7 separate regions of the Homo sapiens genome follow, and regions 1, 3, 4, 5, 6 and 7 are each linked to region 2. Evidence: promoter capture Hi-C in 16 types of primary human blood cells and fetal thymus (Javierre and others, 2016). All regions are on one chromosome and are shown on one strand. The core of a region is centred on a gene start or on the middle of the fragment in contact, and the rest is flanking DNA. Distances in the headings are between cores, read along the strand shown. Region 1 overlaps QRICH2 (glutamine rich 2). Region 2 holds the start of EXOC7 (exocyst complex component 7). Region 3 overlaps PRPSAP1 (phosphoribosyl pyrophosphate synthetase associated protein 1). Region 4 overlaps PRPSAP1 (phosphoribosyl pyrophosphate synthetase associated protein 1). Region 5 holds the start of TRIM47 (tripartite motif containing 47). Region 6 overlaps MRPL38 (mitochondrial ribosomal protein L38). Region 7 overlaps PRPSAP1 (phosphoribosyl pyrophosphate synthetase associated protein 1).

Region 1 (3,819 bases), core at 608-3,107, 190 kb after region 2:
CTGGTCCATTCCAGGTTGGACCAAACCACGCTGATCCACTCCAGGTTGCACCAAACCACGCTGATCCACTCCAGGTTGGACCAAACCACGCTGATCTGCACCAGGTTGGACCAAACCATGCTGAACTGCACCAGGTTGGACCAAACCACGCTGAACTGCACCAGGTTGAACCAAACCACGCTGATCCACTCCAGGTTGGACCAAACCACGCTGAACTGCACCAGGTTGCACCAAACCACGCTGAACTGCACCAGGTTGCACCAAACCACGCTGAACTATACCAGGTTGCACCAAACTACGCTGAACTTCACCAGGTTGTGCCAAACCATGCTGATCCACTCCAGGTTGGACCAAACCATGCTGATCTGCACCAGGTTGGACCAAACCACGCTGATCTGCACCAGGTGGGACCAAACCACGCTGATGATCTGCACGAGGTTGTGCCAAACCACGCTGATCTACTCCAGGTTGGACCAAACCATGCTGAACTGCACCAGGTTGAGCCAAATCACTCTGATCTGCACCAGATTGTACCAAACCATGCTGATCTGCACCAGGTTGCACCACATCAATCTGATCTGCACCAGGTTGGACCAAGCCAGGCTGATATGCACCAGGCTGCACCAAAGCACGCTGAAATCTGCCAGGTTGGACCATGCCAGGCTGATCTACACCAGGCTGTACCAAGACACCCTGACCTGTGCCAGATTGGACCAAATCATGCTGACCTGTGCCAGGCTGGATCAAACCATGCTGATCTCTACCAGGTTGGGCCAAACCAGACTGATCCATTCCAGGCCAGACCAAACCACGCTGATCTGCACCAGGTTGGGCCAAACCAGACTGATCCATTCCAGGCCGGACCAAACCACGCTGATCTGCACCAGGTTGGACCAAGCCAGGCTGATATGCACCACGCTGCACCAAAGCACGCTGAAATCTGCCAGACTGGATCAAATCATGCTGCTCTGTGCCAGGTTGTATGAAGCCAGTTGCTTCCAAACTGGGCTGCACAAAACCTTGCTGATCTGCACTAATTGGCATCAAACCAGGTGATACCAAACCATGCTGGTCTGTAAAAGGTAGAACCAGGCCATGTTGATCGACGACAGGCAATGTCAATCCTTGCTGGTCTATACCAGGGGGTACTAGTCCTTGCTGACCCATGCCTGATATTACACATCCACGCTGATCCATGCCAAGTGGTTCCATACTGCGTTGGTCTGTGCCAGGAAATGTCATACCATGCTGATATGCACTGACTGAAACCAGACCATGTTGGTCTGTGCTAGGTAGTTCCAATCCTTGCTGGTCTCTGCCAGGTACTGATGGTGGCAACATACGTTGCTCATCCACGACAAATGGTATCAATTCCCGATCATCCATTTCAGGTGGTGGCACACCAAGCTGACCCATGCTGAGGGGTACCACACCATGTGGGTAAGTGCTAGCAGGCACTAATCCAGGCTGATTCATGCCAGTTGGTTCTAACCCACGACGATCTGGCCTTAGATGGACCTGACTCTGGCTAGCGGGCACACTACTGGGCTGGTCTCTGGCCAAGGGTAAGTCCTGTTGAACTGGACCAGGACGTGCATTTCTTCTTGGTTGTGTCGAGGTAAGCTTCTCTCTACTCCTGTGACGATCTGAGTCTGATTTGAATTGGAATGTAGAAGACTGATGGAGTCGTGGCACGCCAGCTTCATCACGGGCCCTCGGCTGCTGCTGTCTCCCAGTACCAGAGGGGACCTTGCTTTGTTCCCTACTGGAAACCCCATCAGAGGGGTGTGCTGTGCCACCAGATCCTGATGCAGTCCGATCCGGGCCAAGACCACTGGCAGAATCCAGAGCCTGCTCAATACTTGGTTGCTTGGTAGAGTCTCCGCTTAGAGTCCCTTCAGGTGATGTTAAGGAAGTGAACCCTCCGTGCTTAGAAAATCCCATAAGTGTTTCTGAGCCCTGGTTGGAGAGGAAGAAGGAAATCAATAACAGTCAAAATATTCACTATCAGAGTGGGAAGAAAGGAAATCTGGAAGTTCTGACTAGGATGATTTAGGGCCCCTGGAGAAAAAAGCCCTCTGGTCCTAAAAGCTAAGCTTGACATAAAGAAACACACTGATGGGAGGCCGAGGCGGGTGGATTACTTGAGATCAGGAGTTCGAGACCAGCCTGACCAATATGGTGAAACCCTATCTCTACTAAAAATACAAAATTAGCCAGGCGTGGTGGCATGTGTCTGTAATCTCAGCTACTCAGGAAGCTGAGGCAGGAGAATTGCTTGAACCTGGGAGATGGAGGTTGCCGTGAGATTGTGCCATTGTGCTCCAGCCTGGGTGACAAGAGTGAAACTCCATCTCAAAAAAAAGAAAAGGAAAAGAAACACACTGACGTTCTGGGAGGCTAGGTCTCCATATTTTTGAGACTCTGCATATTTGAAAATGGCATGTACAAAAATATGTAATTTTTGTGGCCAGGTGCGGTGGCTTATGCTTATAGTCCCAGCACTTTGGGAGGCCAAGGCGGGTGGATCATTTGAGGTCAGGACTTTGAGACCTGCCTGGCCAACATGGCAAAACCCCATCTCTACTGAAAATACAAAAATTAGCTGGGTGTGATAGTGCATGCCTGTAATCCCAGCTACTCAGGAGACTGAGGCAGGAGAATCGCTTGAACCCGGGAGGTGGAGGTTGCAGTGAGCCGAGATTGCACCATTGCACTCCAGCCTGGGTGACAGAGTGAGACTCCTTCTCAAAAAAAAAAAAAAAAGTGTAATTTTTCTTCATAAAAGATGGGGAAAACTGCAAAATACAAGTGATCTCTCTGGACTTTTGCTTAGCCTTTAAATAAAGGACATAAGTAATTTATTAAGTTTAAAATATAAAGTCTGGGTCTGGCACGGTGGCTCATGCCTGTAATCCCAGCACTTTGGGAGGCCGAGGTGGGCAGATCACAAGGTCAAGAGATTGAGACCATCCTGGCCAACATGATGAAACCCCGTCTCTACTAAAAACAAATAAATAAATAAATAAATAAATAAATAAATAAAATTAGCTGGGTGTGGTGGCACGTGCCTGTCGTCCCAGCTACTTGGGAGGACAAGTCATGAGAATCGCCTGAACCCAGGAGGCAGAGGTTACAGTGAGCTGAGATCGCACCACTGCACTTCAGCCTGGGTGACAGAGCAAGACTCCATCTCAAAAAATAAATAAATAAAATAAAATAAAATATAAAGTTTGCTCCATTGTTGACCCATTGCTGCTGATAAAAGTGTATACTGGAATGCATGTAAACCATATATTTAAAATGTATAGGCTGGGCACAGTGGCTCACGCCTGTCATCCCAGCATTTTGGGAGACCAAGGCAGGTGGATCATTTGAGGTCAGGAGTTCAAGACCAGCTTGGCCAACATGGTGAAACCTGGTCTCTACTAAAAATATAAAATATTAGCCAGGTGTGGTACTGCACACCTGTAATCCCAGCTACTCAGGAGAATCACTTGAACCCAAAAGGCAGAGGATGCAGTGAGCCGAGATCACGCCACTGCACTCCAGCCTGTGCAACAGAGCGAGACACCATCTCAAAAAGAAATAAATAAATAAAATGTAAACATGCAAACCCATGGACCCAGAAACTCCATAGACAGGAATTTTCTCTATGAATCCTCACCAAAGGATGCCAAGCTATACATACAATGATGGGGTCTGCAGCATCTTGATAAAATAGATCATCAATAAGGGACTGAGATATTTCTGGTCACCAATACAGTAGATGCTATGAATCCATGAAAAAGAAGAATGAACCACTGCCATTTCCAGCCA
Region 2 (4,288 bases), core at 228-2,727:
CATGCCTGTAATACCCAGAATTTGGGAGGCTGAGGCGGGAGGTTAGCTTGAGACTAGGAGTTCAAGACAAGCCTGGACAACACAGTGAGACCCTGTCTACACACACAGACACACACACACACACACACACACACACACACACACACAATTAGCAAGGCGTGGTGGTGTGTGCCTACAGTCCCAGCTGCTAGGAGGCCGAGGCAGGAGGACTGCCTGAGCCCAGGAGTTAGAGACTGCAGTGAGCTACAGTCATGCCACTGCACTCTAGCCTGCACAACACAGCCAGACTCTGCCTCTAAAAAAAAAAATTTAAAAATTAAAATTTTTAGAAAAGGACTAGGACTTTATTATTGTGTGACTAAATGCAAATACAAGTTTGTATTTACTCACTTTGTGCTTTTCCAGTCTCCCCTAGGAATAAAGAAGGAAACTCACTTATTGAGCACCTATTGTATACCAGGCACTGTGCAAGATGCAGTCGCATGCATTAGCGCATATGACCTTCACAGACACACTGGGAGGCTGGCACAGTCTCTGTTTTAGCAGATGAATTCGCTGACACCAGTTACCTATCAGGAGCCGCACATTTAAGCAGAAGGGCAAGGACTAGATCCCAGATCTGCCTGACTTTAGAGCTCTTTCTTTCCCTAAAGTCCTCTGGAGTGAAGGCTGAGTCTTCTCTGCCCTCAGGAATCTCAAAGTGCCAACCTCCTGGGCAGAGAGTCCACTGACAATGACATATGCCCAGTACCTAGCCCAACTGGTCAGACTCACTGAGTGTTTGCAGAAGGAGAGAAGGAAGAATGGCGAGCTTAGACAGAAAGCAGCAAGTCCAGGCCAGTGGGAAGTGCAGCCTCCTCAGTGAGGGTACGGAACATGGGGAGGGGGCTAGGCAGGAGAGATGCCAAACTGTTGCTAGATAAACCCACACACTGCCTCCGTCGCTGCCCATTCCAGAACTCCAGGCCGCAGGAACCGGAACCGCCAGGTCGCAAGGCTCTCCCCCAGGGTCCGGAGGCCTGCCCTCTCCCCCAGCTGCGGGGAGACTCACCATGTTCTTAGTGAGCTGGTCGCTCTTCTCCAGGCTGTCTCGGATGAAGGACAGAGTCTCCTCCTCCTGGGGGCAGGCAAGGGGAGGACATCACCAGAAACCAGAAGCTAAAGGAGACCACTGCGTCCCAACCCCACGGCCTAGCCCCCAACCCCATCTCCTCGCTGGGTGCGCTCCCTCCCACCCCTGCCTCCTCCATGAGTAGACAATCAGGCCCCGCTGTTGGCCCCTTTCCCTCACCTCCTCCCCAGCCTCCCCAGGCCCACGCCCACCTGCTTCAGCTTGTCCTCAATCTCCCGCCGTCGAGCGGATGCCTCCTGTGGGGGAATCATCGCTCTGAACCCCGCGGCTCCCACTCCCCAGTATCTTTCCTCCGCGGGCCCACCGGGCCCCCGTCCCCGTCACACCCACTTCCGCTCTTGGTCCCGCCCCGGGACGCCTGGGCGGAGCCATGTTGGGAATCGCAGGCTGAAGTGCGCCTGCGCGGAGCCCAAGAACGGACCGACGGCCATTTTGAGCGTGGCTGGGAAGAGAAGTGTATTCGGATGCTGCAAGGGACCTCGACGCGGGTTCCTTGCCTCAGCAGAGGTTTTCGATCGGCCTTATGTCCCGCGGCTGGCAGGACACTTAGAGCTCACTTGCTGTTTTCGTTGAAAGACCGACCCTTTTGATAAAGACTGCTGGGGAAGGCGACGAATTCCTTTCCCCAGGTCGCATTCTATGGGCAGGCACCAAGGCCAATTGCGTTTCCCACAAAGCCCCGCACGGAGCAGGTGACACAGTAGATGCCTAACGTGTGTCCATGTAATGAACCAGGGGCTTGTGTACTTGTTTCCGCCTTCCACCCTGCATTACGCAAAAACGTATCCTGTGGGCTGGCGGGGCTGCTCCGGAGCTCCAGGCCCAGACCCAGCGTCCAACTGCAGCTCCAGGGGACGGGGTGGGGGGCGCCCCTGGATCAACTTCCCTGCGGGGCTGGATGTTGTGGTTGCAGACCCAGCTCCTGCAAAACCTCGAGTTACTCCTTCCTCTAACCCGTCCCTGCCCACCCTGCCTCTGGCCCCCAGCCTTGAGAAAGGACAAGGCCGACCAGCTTGGTTCAGTCCTTCTGTGGCCTCAGTGTCCAGACACCCGGAAGATAGACAAGGAGGCATGTGCTGGTAGATGAGAAGGTTTGGGGCGGGCAGGGGGGACACCAAGCTTTTTTTTTCCTTTCTTTTCTTTTGAGAGAGAGTCTCACTCTGTCGCCCAGGCTGGAGTGCAAGTGGCACGATCTTGGCTCATTGCAGTCTCTGCCTCCCGGGTTCAAGTGATTCTCGTGCCTCAGCGTCCCGAGTAGCTGGGATTACAGGCGGCTGCCAACACGCCCGGCTAATTTTTTTGTATTATTAGTAGAGACAGGGTTTCGCCATGTTGCCCAGGCTAGTCTCGAACTCCTGACCTCAAGTGATCCACCCGCCTTGGCCTTCCAAAGTCCTGAGATTACAGGCGTGAGCCCCTGCTCCCGGCCTAAGGAGAGAAGGAGAGAAGGAAGAACCCAAGCTCTAGGGTTCCCAAGCGCTCACTCCACCCATAGTCACCCGAAGAGGAGGAGGAGGAGGAAGTGGGTGCACAGAGCCTGGAGAGGGATGGGCAGCCTTCCCTCAGGCAAGAGGACAATTTCAATCCTGTTGTAGGTGGGGGAGATAAAAGGCTGATTCCTGTGTCAGGAAATACCCAGGATGATTTCGCTGACATGGTCCTTGTGTAGTCCAAAGGGCTAAGTAGGAGAAAGTTTAAACTGTTAGATGTCACAGAATAGAGTAGCGGGGCTAGTTAGCCGCTGTAGAGAGGGTGTTTTGGGCTCAGGTGGACTACCTTTGAGGGCCTGGTCCAGCATTTAACCTGAGTCTCTCTCTCTCTCTCTTTTTTTTTTCTTGAGACGGAGTCTTGCTGTGTTGCCCAGGCTCGAGTGCAATGGCGTGATCTCGCCTCACTGCAACTTCTGCCTCCCGGGTTCAAGCGATTCTCCTGCCTCAGCCTCTCGAGTAGCTGGGATTACAGGCATGGGCCACCACCCTGGCTAATTTTGTATTTTTAGTAGAGATGGGGTTTCTCCATGTTGGTCAGGCTAGTCTTGAACTCCCAACCTCAGTTGATCCGCCCGCCTCGGCCTCCCAAAGTGCTGGGATTACAGGTGTGAGCCACCGTGCTTGGCCTGAGTCTCTAAACAGTTCCTGGCCCATAGTAGATGCTTAATAAAAATACTGATAATAAATATTTTGCTCCGGCCAGGTGTGGTGGCTCATGCCTGTAATCCCAGCACTTTGGGAGGCCGAGGCGGGTGGATCACGAGGTCAGGAGTTCGAGACCAGCCTGGCCAACATAGTGAAACCCCATCTCTACTAAAAATACAAAAATTAGCTGGGTGTGGTGGTGTGCACCTGTAGTCCCAGCTACTCGGGAGGCTGAGGCAGAATTGCTTGAACCCAGGAGGCAAAGGTTGCGGTGAGCCGAGATGGTGCCATTGCACTCCAGCCTGGGCAACAGAGCAAGACTCCATCTCAAGCAAAAAAAAAATTTTGTTTTTTTTTTGCTCCATAGGTCTTGGGAATCCTTTATGTGCGTGAGGAAGCTAATATTTTCAAATCTGTACAATGTCATTGCATTTTTGTCAATCAGCTGTGTGTGCTTTACTGCATTTCCTTCAGTGTCTGAGTCTAATGGGGTTAGATACCATTAGTACAATACCATGTACTGAGAGTCTTCTGTTTGCCTGTCTCTACTACAAACATTGCCCTTGCTAATGCTCCTCTAATCCTTATCATAAACCTGGGAGTCAGGCCCAGCTGTCGTCTCCCTTGTGCAGACGAGGAAGCTCCGGCTCAGAGAAGTCAGCTGTAGTAAGTCAACACAGCTGGCCAGCAAAGGGTGAGGCTCAGGCGGTCTCTTCTTTCTCCCCATGCTGGGCAGCTCAGGAGTGGTGTTTGTTATGCAAAGCTGCCAATCTGATTTTCAAAAAAATTCATTGTGAAAAGCATGTTGTATTCAAGACAACTATATTTACTAAGAGTAGACAGAATGAAAAAATGAATTTAAATTATTCTCAACCTATTATCAACCTTGGGTTGACAACAAATAGGTATTGATTCAGCTAAAACTATAATTTCCTAACTATACTCAACACGAGCTACTTTAGCGAAAGGAACAAGTGGTGCTTTAGCTGCAGTCTCAGAAATCTTAGGTCTCACATCCACA
Region 3 (4,049 bases), core at 621-3,120, 210 kb after region 2:
GTATCAATAAGATTTTCAGATTATTTTTAAGAAAGCAGCTAGAACTTTTAAGGAACAGGGCTGATGACAGCAGACATGTAAGGCCATGTTATGATATTTATCCATTAGCTCTGTCTTCTTCCTGACTCTTTTAATCCCTCCTCCCCATCAATCCGGGCAAAAGAAGATATCTAACTCCAGGCTGTTTCGAGTCCTCCCTTGCAAGGAAACACTGTATCACTCATGGCACTGCTTTTTCCATGTTTCCCTCAGGAGGTCCAGGGTCGAGACCCTCGTGAAAGCTAGTCATCCACAGTGATGTTTCGGAAAAGGTAGGCCATGGACTCTCCATTGTGGATTCTCCGAATGGCTTCAGAAAGAATCAAACTGATATCCACAGTCTTTATCTTGGGACATTGCAGCTTCTGAACCTCATGAGGGACAGTATTCGTCACCACCACCTAGTCACACAGTGATGGAAAACAAACGCTGTTACTGAAGTCTGTTCTCCAAGCTGGTTACACAGAAAAGCTTATCTAACATTGAGTTCCCACAGCCTAAGTTCCAAACTACAAAACCTTGTTCCACCGAGTATAGTTTTTATAAACCAAAATTAACTAATTTTATGCAAAGGAAAAGTTACATGGCCTCAGAACACAAGACAAAAATCTTAGGAATGGCATGGTCTCCATGCAGAAACACAGTGAGCCCCAGTGCTATGCAAAACTCTCAGATCATAAGGGAAGAATTCCAGCCTCAAGAGAAATGCTCCTAGGGTGTCAAATTAAAGTACCCAAGCAAACCGTTATGCAAATAGACATATACAGACCCTCAACATAACTCTCAACTTATGACAGGGTTATGTCTGGATAAACGCATCATTATAAGTTGAAAATATTTTAAGTAGAAAATGCATTTAGGCCGGGCACAGTGGCTCATGCTTGTAATCCTAGCACTTTGGGAGGCCGAGGCAGGTGGATCACCTGAGGTCAGGAGTTTGAGACCAGCCTGGCCAACATGGTGAAACCCCGTTTCTAAGAAAAACACAAAAATTAGGCCTGGTGGCCGGCGCGTGTAATCCCAGTTACTTGGGAGACTGAGACAGGAGAATCGTTTGAACCCGGGAGGCAGAGGTTGCAGTGAGCCGAGATTGCCACACTGCACTCCCAGCCTAGGCAACAGAGCAAGATTCCATCTCAAAAAAAAAAAAAAGCATTTAATACGCCTAACCTACTAAACATCATTAACTTGGCCTAGCCCTACCTTAAACATGCCCAGAACAGTTACATTAGACTGCAGGTGGCAAAATCATCTAGGGCAAAGGCTTTCATTTTATAATAAAAGCGATTATTTTAAAATAAAGTGTCTCAAGTAATTTATCGAATACTATACATTACATCGTAATTGCAATGGTTTTGCATCATCATAAAGTCAAAAACTTCTAAGTTGAACCATGGTAAGTCGTGGACTATCTGTATTCCTAAACATGTATCTGTCCCAACGAACTGCTAGCCAGCAAAAGCTAGAAAAGCTATAGACAGATTAAGCAATTTAGTATTGACTGAATCATTTTATTATTCCCAGAAAACACAGCAGTAAATCTTGGCTCAAGATTTAGAAGCAGCCTGACCTCGTCTACGGAGGACTCCTCAATCAGGCGAGGGGCCTCTGCAGACAGGATGCCGTGGGTGGCCATAACATAGATCTTATAGGCGCCTCTCTCTTTCAGGATCTCCGCGGCAGCAACAAAACTCTCCACATCGTCAATAATGTCATCCTGGGAGGAGAACAGAGTGAGTTGGTAGGAAAGAAACACCCTCTAGCCCATACTGTCAATGCACACACCACTCTACTCTCTTCTGCACTCAGTTTCAGAGGATTTCTGATGGAAAATCAGAGCTGTGTGCCTGGGTCAAAGAACGAGCATCCAGAAATGGCAACAGAAGCACCTGACAGTACCTTGTGTGTCTGTCAGAGGCGGGCGCAGTCAAGCACCTGTGACATTACGGCTGGAGCTGAGGATTGCCAACACTCATTTTCCTGTCTCACGTTTCTGGTGAATCCCACATAGCCAGCGTTCCATTTATTTTTTTTTCAAATAGACTGTGACATGAGAAGAAAACTGAAATAAAGTGTGCTACTGCAAAGGACTCATGACCCACTAGCCAGCAGATATTTAGAGCTGGGAAAAAAAGTATGTCAACATGCAGAACGAGTCTGCACGGGGACACCCATTCTTACTTGTGAAAACGGAACAGCTCATCTTCAGTTCATCTTTCGGCCCTAACGCTCAAGCATGATTAGGTGAGCTGGTTTAAAGAACCTAGAATCCACATGATGAAGGTGAAGGTGCTGAATTTTCTCACGGGAGTACTGTGCTCATTTCCTATCTGTAGGTTATACTTTAATGTATGTTCACCTGGATACAGGTTTCTGCCACTTGGCACAAGGGAGTTTGGGTGAGAAAGGATACATGGATCCATTCGGATCATCGTTCCTAGAAATACAGTCCCAGAGTGGACAACCTACTGACCAAGAGCCAGGAGTGCCACCTCTGCACATGGATGACATATAACCATACCACGATGATTGCGATGCGGCCTCCAACATCTCCAACTACAGTTATCGGTGGCTTCTCTTTGGCCATCATCACTAGCAAAACAAAACAAATTACAAGATCTCAGTCATTCATGTATCACTAGAGAAATGTAATCACAACCTAATTCCCTGGAAATGGTGGCAAAACCACTATACAGACAAAAAACAAACAAACCATGCAAATTCCCCCTCAATGAACCTGCAATCTCTCAGAAACAGCAGCATTGGCCAAAAGAAATAGAAGGCATGCCATACATGTTACTTTGAATTTTCTAGTAGCCACATTAAAAACAGATGAAATTAATACATTTTATTTTATGCAATTCCCAAAATATTATAATTTCAACATGTAACTGATATAAAAATGTATGTATGTATGTATGTATGTATGTATTTTTTGAGACGGAGTTTTGCTCTTGTTGCCCAGGCTGGAGTGCAATGACGCGATCTTGGCTCACTGCAACCTCCGCCTCCCAGGTTCAAGCAATTCTGCCTCAGCCTCCCGAGTAGCTGGGATTATAGGCATGCGCCACCACACCCAGCTGAGTTTTGTATTTTTAGTAGAGATGGGGTTTCTCCACGTTGGTCAGGCTGGTCTCGAACTCCTGACCTCAGGTGATCCACCCGCCTCAGCCTCCCAAAGTGCTGGGATTACAAGCTTGAGCCACCACGCCCAACCTGATATAAAAATTAATGAGATGTTTTACACTTTTTTTTCTCAGAGGGGATCTTGCTATGTTGCCCCGGCTCATTTCAAACTGGAAGCAAACAATCCTCCTACCTCAGCCTCCCAAAGTGCTAGGATTATAGGCATGAGCCACCGCACCCAGCCTTACACTTTTTTCCTATCAAGTCTTCTCTACTTGGTGTGTGTTTTATACGCACAGCACTTCTCAGTTGAGACGGGCCGTGTCTCATGAGCTCAGCAGCCAGCACATTGCACTGCACAGCACAGCTGGAAAGACAACGAACCAGCAGAGCATGGAAGATTCTGCCAACACGGAGAAGCTGCACCGCAGTGCTGTGTGGATAGAAACCCCACTCTCACAGAGACTGACAGAGACATGCAGAAGGAATGCCGCTCTGCAGAAAGCGAAACAGCGAAAGGCTGCCAGATCATGAGATGGCTTTATGTTATTTTCTTCCAAAGTCACCTTATTTGGACAGTGTAACCTTACTATCAGATAACTGCACTACTGACATAATCAGAGTTTCCTCAAAATCAGGAACTTGAAGACAATAACTCCAGGCCCATCATCTTTTCCTGATTTAATTGGTGCTTAAAGTAGAGACTTTTATCTGACTGCAAAATCTGCATCTGAAGAAAGGCTATGAGTGTACAAAGGAAACTACAGGATAAAGAAAGGAAATAAGATTTTATCCTCAAAAGGAGGTTAGTAAACAGAGAAGAAAAACAAAGACTACTTCAGAAGAACAGGCTAAGTATTCTTTCTTTAAACTTTGTTATTATT
Region 4 (4,270 bases), core at 528-3,027, 240 kb after region 2:
GGCCTAAAAAGGCCACTGCAAAGAAGGGAGAGAAGGTACCCAAGGGAAAAAGGAAAAAGCTGACACTGGCGAGGAGGGGAATGACTCTATGGGAAGTGGAGATGCCTGAACACACCAGGCACCTGCTGGAGATGCTGAGGGAAGCGTGTGCATTTTGGATAACTGTGTACTTCTGGTGACTGTACAGTTTGAAATACTATTTTTTATCAAGTTTTATAAAAACGCAGAATTTTTGTTTTCTAAGCTATGTTGTTAGCACACAGAACGCTTCATTGTTGTTCTGGGGAAAGGAGCATATGTCATGAATAGAATGTCTCCGAAGCTGGATTGATGTGGGGAAAGCACCTTTCCCTTCTAGTTTTGAGAGACTTCCTCTCGGCTCCCAGGAAGAGGGGCTCCCTGACTTTGACACACATGGCCACCTCAGCACACAAAAGCCTTGTGCTCTGAAAAGACAAATTTGTTTCTATGTCCTCTTCTCCCTTTCCACCTTTCAGCATGGACTTAAATCCCTTAAAGCCAGACATCTGTTGGCACCTGACCCCCCCATAATTGATTACCAGTGTGGCAGGCAATCTGGACCTTCCAGTGATGCCACTGAGATGGCGCCCCTCAAAAGAGCAGTAGTTCCGTTTCTAGACTGTGGATCTTCAGATAAACTCTGCCATATTCATTTCACTTCCGGAAAGTCAGGGTCAGCTTGTGAAAAGTTGTTAAACAACATGCTAAATGTTCACTGGGTTTTACAGTGGCTTTCTGATTTTTGGTTGTGCACTGAAAAAGGGAGTTTGGCCGGGCGCGGTGGCTCCGCCTGTAATCCCAGCACTTTGGGAGGCTGAGGCAGGAGAATTGCTCGAACCTGGGAGGCAGAGGCTGCAGTAAGCTGAGATTGCACCACTGCACTCCAGCCCGGGCGACATCCTTATTATTTTTTCAACAAATGCTGAAGCCTCCTCCATGTCAGGAACTGTACTGGGAACCCCAAAATGCAGGACTTGGAAGAAGGGACAAAGACTGACCCAGGAGAGATGATACAACAACAAGGCCAGCAAACCCTCCGGGCCCAATATGCCAGAGACGCTAGCCATGACGAAGGAGAAAGAACAATGGGGCTGGAAAAAAGGGCCTCACTGCAATCCAGAACGAGCAGCGCAGAAGGGGGTTTGGGAACATGGGAAGATGTGGGATCCGAGTGTGCCAAGCAGAGGGGCAGGCAGTTAGTCCACTTAGAAAGCAGACAGAGTGGGCCGGGCGCGGTGGCTCATGCCTGTAATCCCAACACTTTGGGAGGCCAAGACGGGTGGATCACCTGAGGTCAGGAGTTCAAGACCAGCCTGACCAACATGGCAAAACCCCCGTCTCTGCTAAAAATACAAAATTAGCCGGGTTTGGTGGCGTATGCCTGTAATCCCAGCTACTTGGGAGGCTGAGGCAAGAGGATTGCTTGAACCTGGGAGGTGGAGGTTGCAGTGAGCCAAGATCATGCCACTGCACTCCAGCCTGGGTGACAGAGCAAGACTCCGTCAAAAAAAAAAAAAAAAAAAAAAAAAAAAGAAAGCAGACAGAGTGAGGGGAAAGAGAGAGACAGGAGGTCAGGGAGCCAAGGGGCCAGGACTTGCAGGACTCTGGATTTCATTTCTTACTCGCTGAAGAGTCTGGAATTTATTCTAGCAGTGACAGGAAAGCCACTGGAAGATTTAAGGTTGGGAAGGGTTTCATCTACTTGTTTTAAAAAGACTGCTGGCTACTGTGTGAAGAAAACCGTGGCAGGGCAGGAGTGGCCACGGGGAGGCCATGGCGTCTGTTTTGGAAGGTGTCTAGCAAGCAGCAAACGGCAGGCTGGACTTAAGTGGGAGCAGCAGAGGTTGTGAGAAAGGGTCAGATATAAGATGTATTCCAAAGTCAGAGCACACAAGATGTGGTAATGGGTGGATCAAAGATGAGGCAGGTAAAGGGGTAGAATCTGGATTCCCAAAGGGCCCCATGTGATTGCTAAAAAGACTGGACCCCAGCCTACAGGGTAGGAGTAAGGAAGCAGTAGTAAGAAAAAATATTTGCATTTTAGAAATAACGTGGTGGAAGCCGAGTGCGGTGGCTCACGCCTGTAATCCCAGCACTTTGGGAAGCTGCGGTGGGAAGACTGCTTGAGCTCAGAAGTTCAAGACCAGCCTGGCCAACATAGTGAGACCCCATCTTAATAAAAATAAATAAATAAATAAATAAATAAATAAAGGCTGGGCACAGTGGTCATGCCTGTAATCCTAGCACTTTGGGAGGCCGAGGCAATAGGGTCCCCTGAGGTCAGGAGTTTGAGACCAGCCTGGCCAACAGGGTGAAACCCCATCTCTACTAAAAATACAAAAATTAGCCGGGTGTGGTGGCGGGCGTCTGTAATCCCAGCTACTCAGCAGGCTGAGGCAGGAGAATTGCTTGAACCTGGGAGGCAGAGGTTGCAGTGAGCCAAGATCATGCCACTGCACTCCAGCCTGGGCGACAGAGTGAGGCTCTGTCTCAAAAAAACTAAATAAATAAAAAATAATTTTAAAAAAAAGAAATAATTTTAACTTACCTCCATTGGTCTCTTGATATACAACAGACTTCCCCAATTCAGCACCAAGGCGCCTATAGATCAAAAAGAACAAAAAAGGGAAATTAAGATTACTCTTTTTAAAAAAATTCCAGTTCATATGCATATGTCTAATAAAAAGACTCAAATAATTAAGCTGCCATTCTTTCCAAAAAATAATTCAGAAAATCTAATTCATTAAACTAAAATTCTGCTGTCACTCCATAAGCAGCTCACCACGTTGTAACATACTGCTTTACCAGACAGAGCTCACAACCCATGGTTAATGTCTGGTGCGCGTTGTTCTTTGAATAGTAATTTTCTTGGAAAATCACTTCCAAATACTTGGTTACAAGCAATGATTTCAATAACACACACCAGAGATAAATGCCTCAATTATCAAAAGCATAGAGAAGGAAAGAGGCTTCAGCACTCTGACCAAATGTGGTGTGGATCTTGTTTGGATCCTAATTAGAATAAACCAAGTGTAAAAAGCCATTTTTGGCCAGGCGTGGTGGCTGATGCCTGTAATCCCAGCACTTTGGGAGGCCAAGGCGGGCGGATCACCTGAGGTCGGGAGTTTGAGACCAGCCTGACCAACATGGAGAAACCCCGTCTAAAATACAAAATCAGCTGGGCATGGTGGAGCATGCCTGTAATCTCAGCTACTAGGGAGGCTGAGGCAGGAGAATTGCTTGAACCCGGGAGGCGGAGGTTGTGGTGAGCCGAGATCGCGCCATTGCACTCCCGCCTGGGTAACAAGAGCAAAACTCCGTCTCAAAAAAAAAAAAAGCCATTTTAAAAAATAATCAGAGAAATATGGACAAAGACTAGATACTACATAATATTAAGGAATTAATAGTAGTGTGAGGTTTTAAGTCCTGATTAGTAAGCATTACTCTTTTTACAAGTGAAATGATATGATGTAAGATAATCTATTTAAAAATATTCCAGGCCGGGTGCGGTGGCTCACGTCTGCAATCCCAGCACTTTGGGAAGCTGAGGTGGGCGGATCACCTGAGGTCAGGAGTTCGAGACCAGCCTAACTAATATAATAAAACCCCATCTCTACTAAAAATACAAAAATTAGCTGGGTGTGGTGGCGAGCGTCTATAATCCCAGCTACTCAGGAGGCTGAGACAGGAGAATTGCCAGAATCCAGGAGGCAGAGGTTGCCGTGAGCCGAGATCACACCATCGCACTCCAGCCTCGGCAACAGGAGCGAAACTCCATCTCAAAAAATAATAATAAAAAAAATAAAATTAACATCTCCAGCCAGGCCAGGCGCAGTGGTTCATGCTTGTAATCTCAGCATTTTGGGAGGCCAAGGTGGGCAGAACACTTGAGGCCAGGAGTTCGAGACCCGCCTGGGCAACATGGAAAAACCCCATCTCTACTAAAAACACAAAAATTAGCTGGGTGTGGTGGTGGGCACCTGTAATCCCAGTTACTTGGGAGCTGAGGCACGAGAATCACTTGAACCTGGGAGGCGGGGGCTGCAGTGAGCCAAGATTGTGCCACTGCACTCCAGCCTGGGTGACTTTATCTCAAAAAAAAAAAACAACAAAACTCCAGCCAGGTATACACATACAATGGAATATTATTTGGCCTTAAAAAAAGAATAAATTCTGCAGCCAGGCGCAGTGGCTCATGCCTGTAATCCCAGCACTTTGGGAGGCCGAGGCGGGCGGATCACGAGGTCAG
Region 5 (4,109 bases), core at 1-2,500, 230 kb before region 2:
CAGAGGCGCCAAGACCGGGCTGGAGGCCAAAGGAAACTGGGGGCGGGAGGTAGAGGCCGCGGCTCACATGCTCCCACCACTGGCCCCCGGAACAGCTGGACAGAGAATCTGTGTGCCCGGTCGCCCTCTGCCGCCCTCCTGCCGCCTGCCACACCCATCGAAAGCTGCTGCCTCAGCCCAGGGCAAATCTGAGCTGAGACCGGCGTGACCCTCCGGGCGGGAGCAGCAGCCACGCTACCGGAACCCCGCGGGCCTAACCCGGCTCCCTCCCGCCTACACCCCCATAGACCCCGGCCCGGCTTCAGGTCCCCTGCCCGCTCTTCGCGTCCTTGTCCTGTTCTCACGTCCCTCCTTCCTCCCTTCCCATCTCCATCACCGCCAGCAGATGACCTTGTCAAGGCTGGAAGGGACCGCAAAGATCCTCAGGTTAGAGGAGGAGATTAAGACCCAACCCGGGAAGACTGGGGGGTCCAAGGTCCTCGGCCCGCTCGCGCGCGGTCGGTCACCAGCCCCGGCTCACCCGAGTGTGCCCCCGGAGCCCACCTCCTGAAGCGCGCGCTCCTGCTCCAGCGGCACCAGCTCGTGGCCGCGGTGCTCCTGTGCGGCGCAGGCCTCGCACAGACACACGCGCTCCGCGCGGCAGTAGCGCTCGAGCGGCCGTAGGTGGCGCGGGCACAGGCTCTCCTCTAGCCGGCGCAGCGGCGGCACCAGGCGGTGTCCGCGGAGGGCGGGGCTGCGCTCGTGCGGGCCCAGGTGCGCGGGGCAAAAGGAGGCGAGGCAGGAGAGGCAGGACAGCGCGGCGGGCAGGGCCGCGCCCTCGGGGCACGCGTCGCAGCGCACTGGCTCTTCGCCCGCGGGCCACGGCTCGGGAGCGCAGGGGGCCGACGGCTCCGGGACACTGGGCAGCGCGCTGGGTGCCGAGGGCTCCGGGGCCAGGGCAGGGGCCGGGCCGGGGCCGGACCCGGGGCCCGAGCCCTGGCGGAGCTGCAGCAGCTCGGACAGCGTGTGGTTCTTGCGGAGCTGAAGGCCGTCGGGGAAGGGCTCCTGGCACAGCGGGCAGCGGGCCGCGCCTCCGGGTCCGCCGGCTCCACTCGCGCCACGATGCGGCCAGAGCGCGCCCAGGCAGGCGAGACAGAAGTTGTGGCCGCAGGGCAGCGTCACCGGCTCCCGGAGTGGCTCTAGGCAGATGGGGCAGCTGAAGGGTCCACTGCCGTCCATGACTCCGCGGCCGCCCAGGGCGCCGCCGATTGTGCTCCGGCCTGGGAGGGACCCGGGCCGTTCGCGCCGCGGCACCTCCCCCTGGGACCTAGGCCAGGGCTCCGGCCCCCGCCCGCCCCCAGCTCGGCCCGCCCCGCAGCACCGCCCGCCTGCGGGCCCGCGGACTCCCAGTCCCCGCCCAGACAACGCAGGGAGGCCTCCGAGCCCGCGCGACCCCCAGGGGAGTCCGCGTGGTCCTAAGGAAGGGCGCTGCTGAAAGGGTGTGAAACTGAGTGAGCGCGGGCGGAGAACGCGAGAGGTACAGTGGAAGGAATGGGAAGGACTCAGCCTCCATCCCTCTGGTCCTTCTGGGCCAGGCCAGCGCTCCGCAGGGGCTGGGCGCGTCTAGCTGTGTCATGCCTGCACCTTTGCGCTCGACCCCTCCCTGGCACCCTTAGCAAAGTTCCTGAGCTGCTGACTGCAGAGAAAAATAACTGCTGATGTACATATGTTTTTGCCCCTTAGCGACTCTTTTTTTTTTTTTTTTTGAGACAGAGTTCCTCTCTTGTCGCCCAGGCTGGAGTGCAGGGGCGCTATCTCGGCTCACTGCAACCTCCGCCTCCCGGATTCAAGTGATTCTCCTGCCTTAGCCTCCCAAGTAGCTGGAATTATAGGCGCTTGCCACCACACCAGGCAAATTTTTGTATTTTTTTGTAGAGACGGAGTTTCACCTTGTCCAGGCTGGTCTTGAACTCGTGACCTCAGGTGATCCACCTGCCTCGGCCTCCCAAAGTGCTGGGATTACAGGCGTGAGCCACAGCGCCCAGCTCCTTTAGCGACTCTTTACCCCAAGTAGGGAACTTGGACTTTTCTAGACCTGAAATGGGAAGTTGACGTCATTCCCTAAGTCCCTTGTCTGAGGAATGTAGTTCTGGCCCCTGGACACTGGGGACACCTGTGGTGGGGTTGGGGGTTCCCCAACTGGAAGTATTTAAAGCTCATCTAATTATGCACTTAAAGTGGTGCGTTTTATTGTATGAGTTATATCTCAATAATGTTAAGTTAAAACACTACACCAGAATGACAACAAAATAAGTAAAGTAGCACTGATTATAACCCAAAGTGTAAAATAAACATCTATGAGTCCATGCCGATATAAATAAATAATAAATTAACAAGCTGGGGAGAACAGACATATTTCGCATTGAAAATTCCAAATAATGTTTTTTTATTTTTATTTTTTTAGATGGAGTTTCGCTCTTGTCGCCCAGGCTGGAGTGCAGTGGCGCAATCTCAGCTCACTGCAACCTCTGTCTCCTGGGTTCAAGCGATTCTCCCTCCTCGGACTCTTGAGTAGCTGGGATTACAGGCGCCCGCCACCACATTTGGCTAATTTTTGTATTTTTAGTAGAGACGGGGTTTCACCATGTTGGCCAAGCTGGTCTCGAACTGCTGACTTCAGGTGATCCACCCGCCTCGGCCTCCCAAAGTGCTGGGATTACAGACATGAGCCACCGCACCCAGAGATATCTGTAATTTTGGTTAGTGACAAAGTCACAGGTAACTGCTCATACCACTCTGGTGTATTCTCTCCATTTGGAATAGAAAGAAATGCTGTGTTTCAGTAAGGTGCTGCAGCGTGGCTTCCTTCTGCAGGATCTGAGGGAGACTCTGTCCTGGGCGTCTGTCCCAGCTTCTGGTACTGGCTGGCAATTCTTGGCGTTCCTTGGCTTGTAGCTGTAAGATGCGCTCTAATATCAGTCTCTGTTGTCATTTGCCTTTTCTCTGTGTCTGTGTTCAAATGTCCTTTTTTTTTTTTTTTTTAGGGAGTCTTGCTCTGTTGCCCACTCAAACTGCTGGGCTCGAGTAATCTGCCTGCCTCAGCCTCCCAAAGTGCTAGGATTACAGGCGTGAGCCACTGTGCCCGGTGCCCATTTCCTCTTATCAGGACACCAGTTGTTGGATTAGGGCACGCTCTACTCCAGTATGCCCTCATCTTAACTCAGTCACATCTGAAAATACTCTATTTCCAAATAAGGTCACAGCCACAGGTCCTGGGGGTTAGGATCCGAATACGTCTTTTTCAGGGAACAGGATTCAACCTATAACAGTGCATAAGTAAGGAAATGTTGGAGAGAGGCCCAGGCCCAAATGTGCTAGAGGTCATGCATGTCCCCCGGTGTTCCTGGCCCTCTCTGTGTTCCAGGACCCTGGCCCTTCCCTAAACCTCAGCACACACTGCTGCTTGTCCCACACCCAAACCCTTGTCCACCTCTCCCACCGGGTCTGCATTCCTGCCTCTGTTTCCCCAGCTCTCTAGGCTTGGGGGGTGGGAAAATACCCTCAGGTCCCCTGAGACCAGACTAGAAATGTTCAGAAGGCACTTCATGAGTTCAGAGCTAAAGAGGAGAAAACACAAGCAAAAGAGCACAAATGTGCCGGGTGTGGTGGCTCACGCCTGGAATCCCAGGACTTTGGGAGGCTGAGGCGGGCGGATCACTTGAGGTCACGAGTTCCAGACCAGCCTGGTTAACATGGCGAAACCCCATCTCTACTAAAAATACAAAAAAATTAGCCGGGCGTGGTGGTGCACACACTTGTATTCCCAGCTACTCGGGAGTCTGAGGCAGGAGAATCGCTTGAACCAAGGAGGCAGAGGTTGTGCCACTGTACTCTCCAGCCTCGGTGACACAGCGAGACTCCATCTCAAAAAAAAAAAAAAAAAAAAAAGAAAAGAAAAGAAGAAAGAAAGAAGGAGGGACCCAGCCTCTTGGGGAGGGAGCTGGCTCTCCAGGCACTCAGGAACCCCTGTCTTAGTGTGTCTGGGCTGCTATCCCAGAACACCAGAGACTGGGTGGCTTATACACAACAGACACTCCTCACAGTTCTGGAGGCTGGAAGTCTGCGATCAC
Region 6 (3,794 bases), core at 362-2,861, 200 kb before region 2:
GTTTCTTGTAGAAATCAAAAGTGCGGAAGGTCCGCTGGGCCAGCTGATAGCTATGAGAAGATAGAGAGCGTATGAGAGTGTGGAGTGGGGCACCAGAGCCCCTCACCCCGCCACCCCAACAGGTAACCCTGAGAGGCCCCTGGGAGTCTGCTAGCACCCTATCCTGCTCTTCTGCCAGTCTCAAGGCTGAGGTCAAGAGAGAACTGAGCAAGAGTGACCGTTCCAGGGGAGCTGGCCTGAGGCCGGGTTATGTGTGGGTGGTGTAGATTACCAGGGTGAGGGGCGTGCGTCCTCAGAGAAGTCAATCGGCTGGTCCTGCTTGAAGAGCAGGAAGGCAAGACGGTGGATGCCGGAGCCTCGGGCAGGGAAGGGGGGGAGGTAGGGACACGTCACCTGTCCTTCAGCCACCCGGTTACCCGGGATGTTGGTTCTGGGAGGAGGAAAGTCCCGGTTAATTACCACTCCAGGGAGGCAGCAGGAGTGTCCCCTCAGCTCCATGCACACCCTAGAGGCTGACATGACTCCCTGGGAGGACAGCTCTAAGCATCTCTCTCCTGGGACAGAGGAGGCAGCCAAGCTCTGTGAACGCCGGGACATGCTGCAAATACGGGAAGCGGGCTGGAGGAGCTCCGAGTGGGGGACAGGGCTCCAGAGAGCATCAGCTTGACAGCAAGGCCATGCAGCCGCTTCCAGGCCCCGGGAGCCGGTGGGTCCGCCACAGTCACTGAGGCTAGAAAGCCAGGCCACTTTTGGCTGCTTTTCCCTCTGCGTCCTGAAGTCTCCAGGACCTCGTCAGGGAGTGTGTGCCCAGCCTGGCACAGGGGCGGCCAACGCCTCAGGCACAAATCCCCAGAGGGTCCTGCCGCATAGGCTGGTAACAGTTGAATAAAAATGACGGAAACCAGCCTCCCAGTCACTGTCCCCAGTTAACCAGAAGGCTCAAAGTTGGGGTCACTGGCCTGACCTCTGCCCCCTGGCCTGGTGTTCAGAGCCAAAAGCTACCAAGATGGAAGGCCGCCCAGTCTGGGCCCAGGGAAGGAGCGCCCAGTGGTTCAAGGAGCACCTGGGGGACGCCACAGCTGCTAGGCCTCTCCCGCTCCTTCTCCCACGTGACTGTCACAGTCCACCTCACGCTGAGTAAGGCATGTGGTGCCATTATCCCAGTTTTACAGGTGAAGAAATGAGTTTAGAGACGAAGGGCCCAGGCATGGTGGCTCACGCTTATAATCCTAGCACTTTGGGAGGCGGAGGCGGGCAGATCGCTTGAGCTCAGGAGACCAGCCTGGGCAACATGGTGAAACCCTGTCTCTATAAAAAAATACAAAAATTAGCTGGGTGTAGTGGTTTGCACCTGTAGTCCCAGCTACTCAGGAGACTGAGGTGGGAAGAGCACCTGAGCCCAGGAGTTAGCGGCTGCAATTAGCCATGATTGCACCACTGTACTCCAGCCTGGGGGACAGAGTGAGACCCTGTCTCAAAAAAAAAAAAAAAAAAGAAAAGAAAAGATGAGGAGGCTTGTGGGGACTGACCGAGGCCTACTGCAAACTTTGTCTCCTGTAGCTGTCTTCAAGTAGACACGTGGATCCCAGGGCCCCTAACACCCTCAGGAGGCAGAGGTGGCAGGTGAATTCAAGGTCCCATGGGTAGTCCATGAAACTCAGGAGCAGCTCAGTCCAGGCTCCCAGCTCCTCTTCCCGCCTGGGCAGCACCCCCTACCCCCAGTACTCCAGTACTCACAGCAGCCAGTGGAGGTACTCAGCATCTGGCTCCAGCAGGTGCCCATCTGCACAAAAACACACCTGCTGACCACGGCCCAGCCGACCACGGCCCTGCCACCCCCTCCCTTGTTAGGAGCCAGCGCTGGAGATCTCCACCTGGCCCCTCCCCCAGCCCCCCAGGGCCCTGGCTCATAGGAGGTGAGCGGGGCAGGAGGCCTGGTGAGCCCCAGACACCCACCCAAGCTAGTGAGTAGCAACGTCCACAAGGAGCCCTCTTCTGCCTCATAGGTCACCTCTGGCGCTTGGGCAGCCTGGCAGGGTGAGAAGGAAGCTGTCAGCCCCACCAGGGACAGGCCAGCTGTTGCAGGGAGCCTTGGAGAAAGGGGTGCCCACTCTGACCCAAAAGCCCTTGACAACCCCTGGCACAGGCAGGCAGGCAAAGGGATGCGTAGAGAAGCAGCCCTGCAGAGTTGCCTGTCCAGGCAACAACCACAAAAACGAACATGTGCCAAGGCCGGGCCAGGAGGGCACACCACAGACAGCAGGCTGGTCACAGGAATGTGCTAAGACAGAGCCTCTTTTTCCTTCATTTTGTTCTATTTTCTTTGAAATTGTCATGGTGTCGTCTTCCAGGAAATCAAAGAGACAGAGAACAACAAAATTCCAAACCCAGGAGTGTCTGTGACACTGAGATGGGATGTGTCTGTGTTTGCACAGGGCAGGGAGGAGGGGCACAAGTGAGTGGTTACCTCGGTTGGAGTCACCTCATTGCCACAGTACACAGGCATCAGGTCATCCTCACCCACAGCGTAGGCCACGTGCAGGGGGACTCGGGGCACAAAGGTGGCACCGTGGAACAGGTCTCGGTAGAGGCCGTAATACTCAGCCAGACGCTGCTTGTGGTAGGGGCCACAGGTCCTCTCCCACTCGGCCCGCACGGCATCCAGCGGGACACTGGCTAGACAGGAATAAGGCCAGTTGGGATACGGGGGTGGGGGGGGCAGGGACACACCCTGTACCCCAACTCTGGGATGGCCCCTCCCCTGAGAAGGCTTACCTGTGCGGAGGCGGGCAGCCCGCTCCTCTTCCACATTGGCCCGAAGCTCCTGGATGGCCTGTTTCCGTTCCAGTAGCTGTTGGGTCCGGGAGACTTTGGGTGGAGGCAGCCCAATATCAATCTTCTCTTTGGGATCTGGAGTGGGAAGATGTGTGGGAAAAACAGGGTCATGACTCACTGCAGCCTTAACCTCCCCAACTCAGTCTCCTGAGTAGCTGGGGCTACAAGTGTACACCATCTCATCTGGCTAATTTTTGTATTTTTTGTAGAGACAGGGTTTTGCCACATTGCCCAGGCTGGTATGAACTCTTGGGCTCAAGTGATCTGCCTGCCTCAGCCTCCCACAGTGTTGGGATTACAGTAGTGTGAGCCACTGCGCCCAGCCATGGTAGCTAATTTAAAAAATCTGAGAGATGGGATCTCATTATGTTGCTCAGGCTGGTCTCAAAACTCCTGGTCTCAAGTGATCCTCCTGCCTCAGCCTCCTAAGTAGCTGGGATTATAGGCGCAAGCCACTGCACCCAGTGAGGGGGCGGGCACATCTTCTTGGTTAAACTGCCTGTCCCTACCTAGTCCTCTCATTCTGTGCTTCAAGCTCTGCTGCTCAAGCTTTCCCTGTGATTCACAGAATTAAAACATACTGTGCAGTCTACTTCCCAGACCTGAATAGGATGTAACTGGGAAGCAAATCAGATACAACTTGAGGTTGTGTTTTTCTTTGAGACAGAATCTCACTCTCTCGCCCAGGCTGGAGTGCAGTGGCGCGATCTCGGCACACTGCAACCTCTGCCTCCCGGGTTCAAGCAATTCTCCTGTCTCAGCCTTCTGAGTAGCTGGGATTACAGGCGCCTGCCACCATGCCCGACTAATTTTTTTTGTATTTTTAGTAGAGACGGGGTTTCACCATGTTGGCTAGGCTGGAGGCTGTGTTTTTCTGATCCCCAAACCAGGTCACAGTTTTGTCTAGGTCATGGGAAACTGAAGTCAATGGTCCTTCCAATTATAGTTGAGATCACCTC
Region 7 (3,851 bases), core at 651-3,150, 230 kb after region 2:
GCCCCAGCCACTGGAGAGGCTGAGGCAGGAGAATTGCTTGAACCCGGGAGGAAGAGGTTGCAGTGAGCCAAGATTGCACCACTGCACTCCAGCCTGGCGACAGAGTGAGACTCCATCTCAAAATAAATAAATAAGTAAAAATAAAAGTTACCTGATCCCCAAAGCCTGGTATTTGATCAACAGCTGTCACCCAGCTTATGATAATGTAAAAGCTTAAGATTTCACACCATCACACATACAACTTTTTTACTGAAGCTAAAATTATCAAACACCGTCTGAATGCTGAGTGCTACGCAGAACCGTCCATACACAGTCTACAAATGTGTATAACACAACTTCCTTTTACAAAAGAGGAAATCGGGCCTGGCATGGGGCTCATGTCTGTAATCTTATGTAATCTCGGCATTTTGGGAGACCATGACAGGAGGATTGTTTGAGCAAAGAAGTTCAAAACCAGCCTGGGCAATGCAGGGAGCCCCGTCTCCATACAAAAAGAAAAAAAAAGGAACAGAAAACTATCCAGGCATGGTAGTGTACCCCTACAGTCCCAGCTACCCAGGAGGCGGAGGTGGGAGAATCACTTGCGCCCCGGTCAAGGCTGCAGTGAGCCATGACTGTGCCACTGTACAGAGCAACAGGGGGAGATCCTTTCTCAAAAAAAAAAAAAAAAAGGCGGAGGATAGCAAATACCATTCCATTATTAAAAAACAACAAGACAGCATATATCTACATAGTCGATAACTCCTAGCCATTCATACTACTTAAAACTTTCTTCAGGGCCAGGTGCAGTGGCTCATGCCTGTAATCCCAGCACTCTGGGAGGCTGAGGCGAGCAGATCACCAGGTCTGGAGCAGATCACGAGGTCTGGAGTTTGAGACCAGCCTGGCCAACATGGTGAAACCCTGTCTCTACTAAAAATACAAAAATTAGCTGGGCGTGGTGGCACACACCTGTAATCTTTGCCACTCACGAGGCTGAGGCAGGAGAATTGCTTGAACCCAGGAGGCAGAGGTTGCAGTCAGCCAAGATCACGCCACTGCACTCTAGCCTGGGTGACAGAGTGAGACTCCATCTCAAAAACAAAACAAAACAAAACAAAACAACAACAACAAAACCAACAAAACCAACAAAAAAAAACTTTCTTCAATTTACAAATAAAATAAAAACACAGAGCTCATCTTACATGGCAACTCCAGGCCTGGGTGCACAGTAGCATTTTTGACCATAGGCGGGGAGTGACGACCATCGTCCATGTCCAGTTCCGTGCACTGAGCTTCCCCGTGAATGACGGCCAAACCCAGACGCAGTCTCTCCGCATAGGACTGGGCCCTAGAAGGACAAAGGGAAATGGTGAAACTGACAGGAAGAAATCCCACGCATCACTACGGCATCATTTTTTAACCATAAAATGAAAATATTTAACGTTTCAGGGACATACAAAGGCATTATTTATATAAATGAGAATGTGAGGCCCAGGCCAGCATGTAAATGACTCAAAGGGCACGTGAGTTAGGGTTTGGGATTGTATCTGATTCTAGACATTTTTTTTTTTTTTTGAGACAAGGTCTCACTGTCACCCAGGCTGGAGTGCAGTGGCGTCAACATGGCTCACTGCAGCCTCAACCTCCTGAGGCTCAGGTGATCCTCCCACCTCAACCTCCCGAGTAGCGGGGACCACAGGCATGTGTTGCCACAACTGGCTATTTTTTGTATTTTGTAGAGACGGGGTCTATGTTGCCCAGGCTGGTCTTGAACCCCTGGGCTCAAGCGATCTCCCGCTTTGGCCTCCCAAAGTGCTGGAATTACAGGCGTGAGCCACCCCGCCTGGCCCTGATTCTAGATAATTTTGATTCTATCCTTTGTCCAATATTCTGATAGTCATCTTCAGAAGAAAGAACAACGTTAAAAACCATTGCCTGGGCCGGGCACAGTGGCTTACGCCTGTAAACCCAGCACTTTGGGAGACCAAGGCAGACAGATCACTTGAGGTCAGGAGTTCAAGACTAGTCTGATGAACATGGTGAAACCCCATCTCTACTAAAAATACAAAAAACTAGCCAGGAGTGGTGACAGGCGCCTGTAATCCCAGCTACTGGGGAGGCTGAGGCAGGAGAGCTGCTTGAACCCAGGAGGCGGAGGTTGCAGTGAGCCGAGATCGCGCCATTGCACTCCAGCCTAGGTGACAGAATGAAACTCCATTTCAAAAAAAAAACAAAAAAAAAAACCATTGCTTGAAAAATGCTCATAGCCTCATTGCTTTCCTTTCTCTGAGAACTTGAAGGAACTTTGTTTTCCCAGAGGAAAGCTGAGCAACTCAGCGATCATGTGTGCTGTCTGGAGGCTGGAGATAAAGCTGTGTGTGGCATGGGACATGACAACGATGGAGGGGTTAACATGAGAGCCAGTGGGCTTTCAAAGGCCACGAGTGACAGCCTCTGGATTCCAAAGCAGCTCATTCTGACTTCGGGAGCACTCAGGAGGGATCAGGACCCATGTCTAGCTTACTTACCTCTTTGCAGCATCAGGAGACTTAGCTACAATGACTGCATTTCTGTAATTTGGAATCTAGATTTGAAGGAAAAATAGAAAATACTGAAAAGTTATCAGAAAATAACACCTGGATGCTGGTATTCAAGTTTTCCCTCTTATAATGATCCAAACTAGTCATCAAATATGCTAGAATTTTAGTCACAAGTTTTAGATTTTTCAATATTTATCAATTAACATCACTGGAAAAAGCACTCCTACGTCAAGAATTTTTTAAAAATAATTCTTAAAACATTCATTTTAGAAAACATAAGCAAATTGCTAAAGATACGTAGAAAAAAAATCTGTTTTTAGTGTCTTTTAAAGCTATGATCGTCCACGACTAAAGCTGACCCTGTCTGCTGCCTCAGGCATTGTGACTTAAGGGAGAGCTCATTTGATGTGCCTTCCAGTAACGAAATCTGATACCAGAGAAAAACTAAATAAGATCTCTTTTGAGGACAATGGGGTGTTTGCTGGTGGTTCCTCACTTCTTCCTGGATATACTGAAGCAGGAAAGGTGAGGCTCTAAGGTTGTCCACAGGAAAGCTGAAAAAGCCTTGTATTTCCTTTTGATGAAGATCCATAGTGATAATGTGAGTTAAACCTGAAATTTTAAAACAAAAAATTACAAAGTTCACCCCTACAGGTAAATGGCTACAGTGGACCTAAACTAGATGCTCAACTCCTGCTTCCTACCAGCAGACTGAAGACGGGGTACTGTGATTAAGCACTGCAGTCACAGGCTTGATTGTTAACCTTAATAAAGCCTTAATGTAGAGAAGGCTACAACCTTCCACATGGACAAAGAACTAAAGCTAAGAAAGTGGGAATTATTGACTTTTGGCTTGGTCCAGAAAATTGAGAAAAGAATAATGTGGCAGAAGCAAAAATATGAATATGGAATTAATACCGAAGAGATGGAAAAAACAGTAAGGCCTTGATTACAGAATCTTAAAAGAAAGGATAAAGAACTGTAGCGAAGGCAAAAAGTAGCAAGAACACAAACGCAAAGTAATATACATATTAGAAGAAAAGAAACTCATATAACACAAAGATATTGAAGCTTAGAATAATTTCTGTATGTAACAAAGAATGTTTCAAGTATTCTTATAGAAAAACAATGAAGAGATACTCTTATAATCAAGAGTACTGAAGAGGAAAAGGTACATATATATAAACACATTGCAAATGGTCAAAGGTCACAGCAAAACTTCCAGGGTGTAGAACCAGTATTACTTGTTCTTTCCAGAAACACTATAGTTTTTTGGAGAGGATGAAATTCACATACAGTTGACCATCTGGATCTATGGGTTCCACGTGT

Evidence for each region. Contacts are between HindIII fragments. The CHiCAGO score rates a contact against its expected background, and 5 or more counts as called.
Region 1: a fragment that was not itself captured here is called in contact with the fragment with the promoter of EXOC7 in region 2 in 17 of 17 cell types (activated CD4 T cells, naive CD8 T cells, naive CD4 T cells and 14 more); the score reaches 22.2 in activated CD4 T cells.
Region 3: a fragment that was not itself captured here is called in contact with the fragment with the promoter of EXOC7 in region 2 in 7 of 17 cell types (M1 macrophages, M2 macrophages, M0 macrophages and 4 more); the score reaches 8.5 in M1 macrophages.
Region 4: a contact is called between a fragment that was not itself captured here and the fragment with the promoter of EXOC7 in region 2, in 2 of 17 cell types (activated CD4 T cells and M2 macrophages). The highest score is 6.0, in activated CD4 T cells.
Region 5: the fragment with the promoter of TRIM47 here is called in contact with the fragment with the promoter of EXOC7 in region 2 in 14 of 17 cell types (non-activated CD4 T cells, erythroblasts, naive CD8 T cells and 11 more); the score reaches 11.5 in non-activated CD4 T cells.
Region 6: a fragment that was not itself captured here is called in contact with the fragment with the promoter of EXOC7 in region 2 in 3 of 17 cell types (endothelial precursors, erythroblasts and M1 macrophages); the score reaches 6.4 in endothelial precursors.
Region 7: a fragment that was not itself captured here is called in contact with the fragment with the promoter of EXOC7 in region 2 in 13 of 17 cell types (M1 macrophages, M2 macrophages, M0 macrophages and 10 more); the score reaches 13.2 in M1 macrophages.

What each region holds. Positions count from the first base shown.
Region 1 is chr17:76,292,063-76,295,881 of GRCh38, forward strand. QRICH2 (glutamine rich 2) reads right to left here. Exons shown (of 19, transcript NM_001388453.1): 4 at 1-1,959. Among named protein-coding and RNA genes, the nearest start is that of QRICH2, 14 kb to the right of the region's middle. The HindIII fragment of the contact is 473 bases long and covers 1,622-2,094 here.
Region 2 is chr17:76,102,310-76,106,597 of GRCh38, forward strand. It overlaps EXOC7 (exocyst complex component 7), which reads right to left and starts at 1,478. Exons shown (of 19, transcript NM_001013839.4): 1 at 1,324-1,478; 2 at 1,052-1,117. The coding sequence starts at 1,383. The HindIII fragment of the contact is 3,319 bases long and covers 1-2,249 here.
Region 3 is chr17:76,311,261-76,315,309 of GRCh38, forward strand. PRPSAP1 (phosphoribosyl pyrophosphate synthetase associated protein 1) reads right to left here. Exons shown (of 10, transcript NM_002766.3): 8 at 2,561-2,631; 9 at 1,610-1,756; 10 at 1-440. The coding sequence ends at 282. Among named protein-coding and RNA genes, the nearest start is that of QRICH2, 5.0 kb to the left of the region's middle. The HindIII fragment of the contact is 2,725 bases long and covers 509-3,233 here.
Region 4 is chr17:76,345,960-76,350,229 of GRCh38, forward strand. PRPSAP1 (phosphoribosyl pyrophosphate synthetase associated protein 1) reads right to left here. Exons shown (of 10, transcript NM_002766.3): 2 at 2,570-2,622. It also overlaps the pseudogene HMGN2P43. Among named protein-coding and RNA genes, the nearest start is that of PRPSAP1, 5.8 kb to the right of the region's middle. The HindIII fragment of the contact is 8,373 bases long and covers 1-4,270 here.
Region 5 is chr17:75,877,331-75,881,439 of GRCh38, forward strand. TRIM47 (tripartite motif containing 47) reads right to left here and starts at 1,251. Exons shown (of 6, transcript NM_033452.3): 1 at 544-1,251. The coding sequence starts at 1,218. It also overlaps a transcript of TRIM65 not described here. RefSeq lists enhancers at 1-625, 626-1,541 and silencers at 386-565, 576-955, 1,086-1,435. The HindIII fragment of the contact is 18,500 bases long and covers 1-4,109 here.
Region 6 is chr17:75,899,245-75,903,038 of GRCh38, forward strand. It overlaps MRPL38 (mitochondrial ribosomal protein L38), which reads right to left. Exons shown (of 9, transcript NM_032478.4): 3 at 2,776-2,910; 4 at 2,468-2,676; 5 at 1,957-2,029; 6 at 1,738-1,783; 7 at 272-430; 8 at 1-50. Among named protein-coding and RNA genes, the nearest start is that of MRPL38, 3.7 kb to the right of the region's middle. The HindIII fragment of the contact is 3,542 bases long and covers 1-3,382 here.
Region 7 is chr17:76,327,533-76,331,383 of GRCh38, forward strand. PRPSAP1 (phosphoribosyl pyrophosphate synthetase associated protein 1) reads right to left here. Exons shown (of 10, transcript NM_002766.3): 5 at 3,019-3,134; 6 at 2,511-2,566; 7 at 1,185-1,330. Among named protein-coding and RNA genes, the nearest start is that of QRICH2, 21 kb to the left of the region's middle. The HindIII fragment of the contact is 3,381 bases long and covers 211-3,591 here.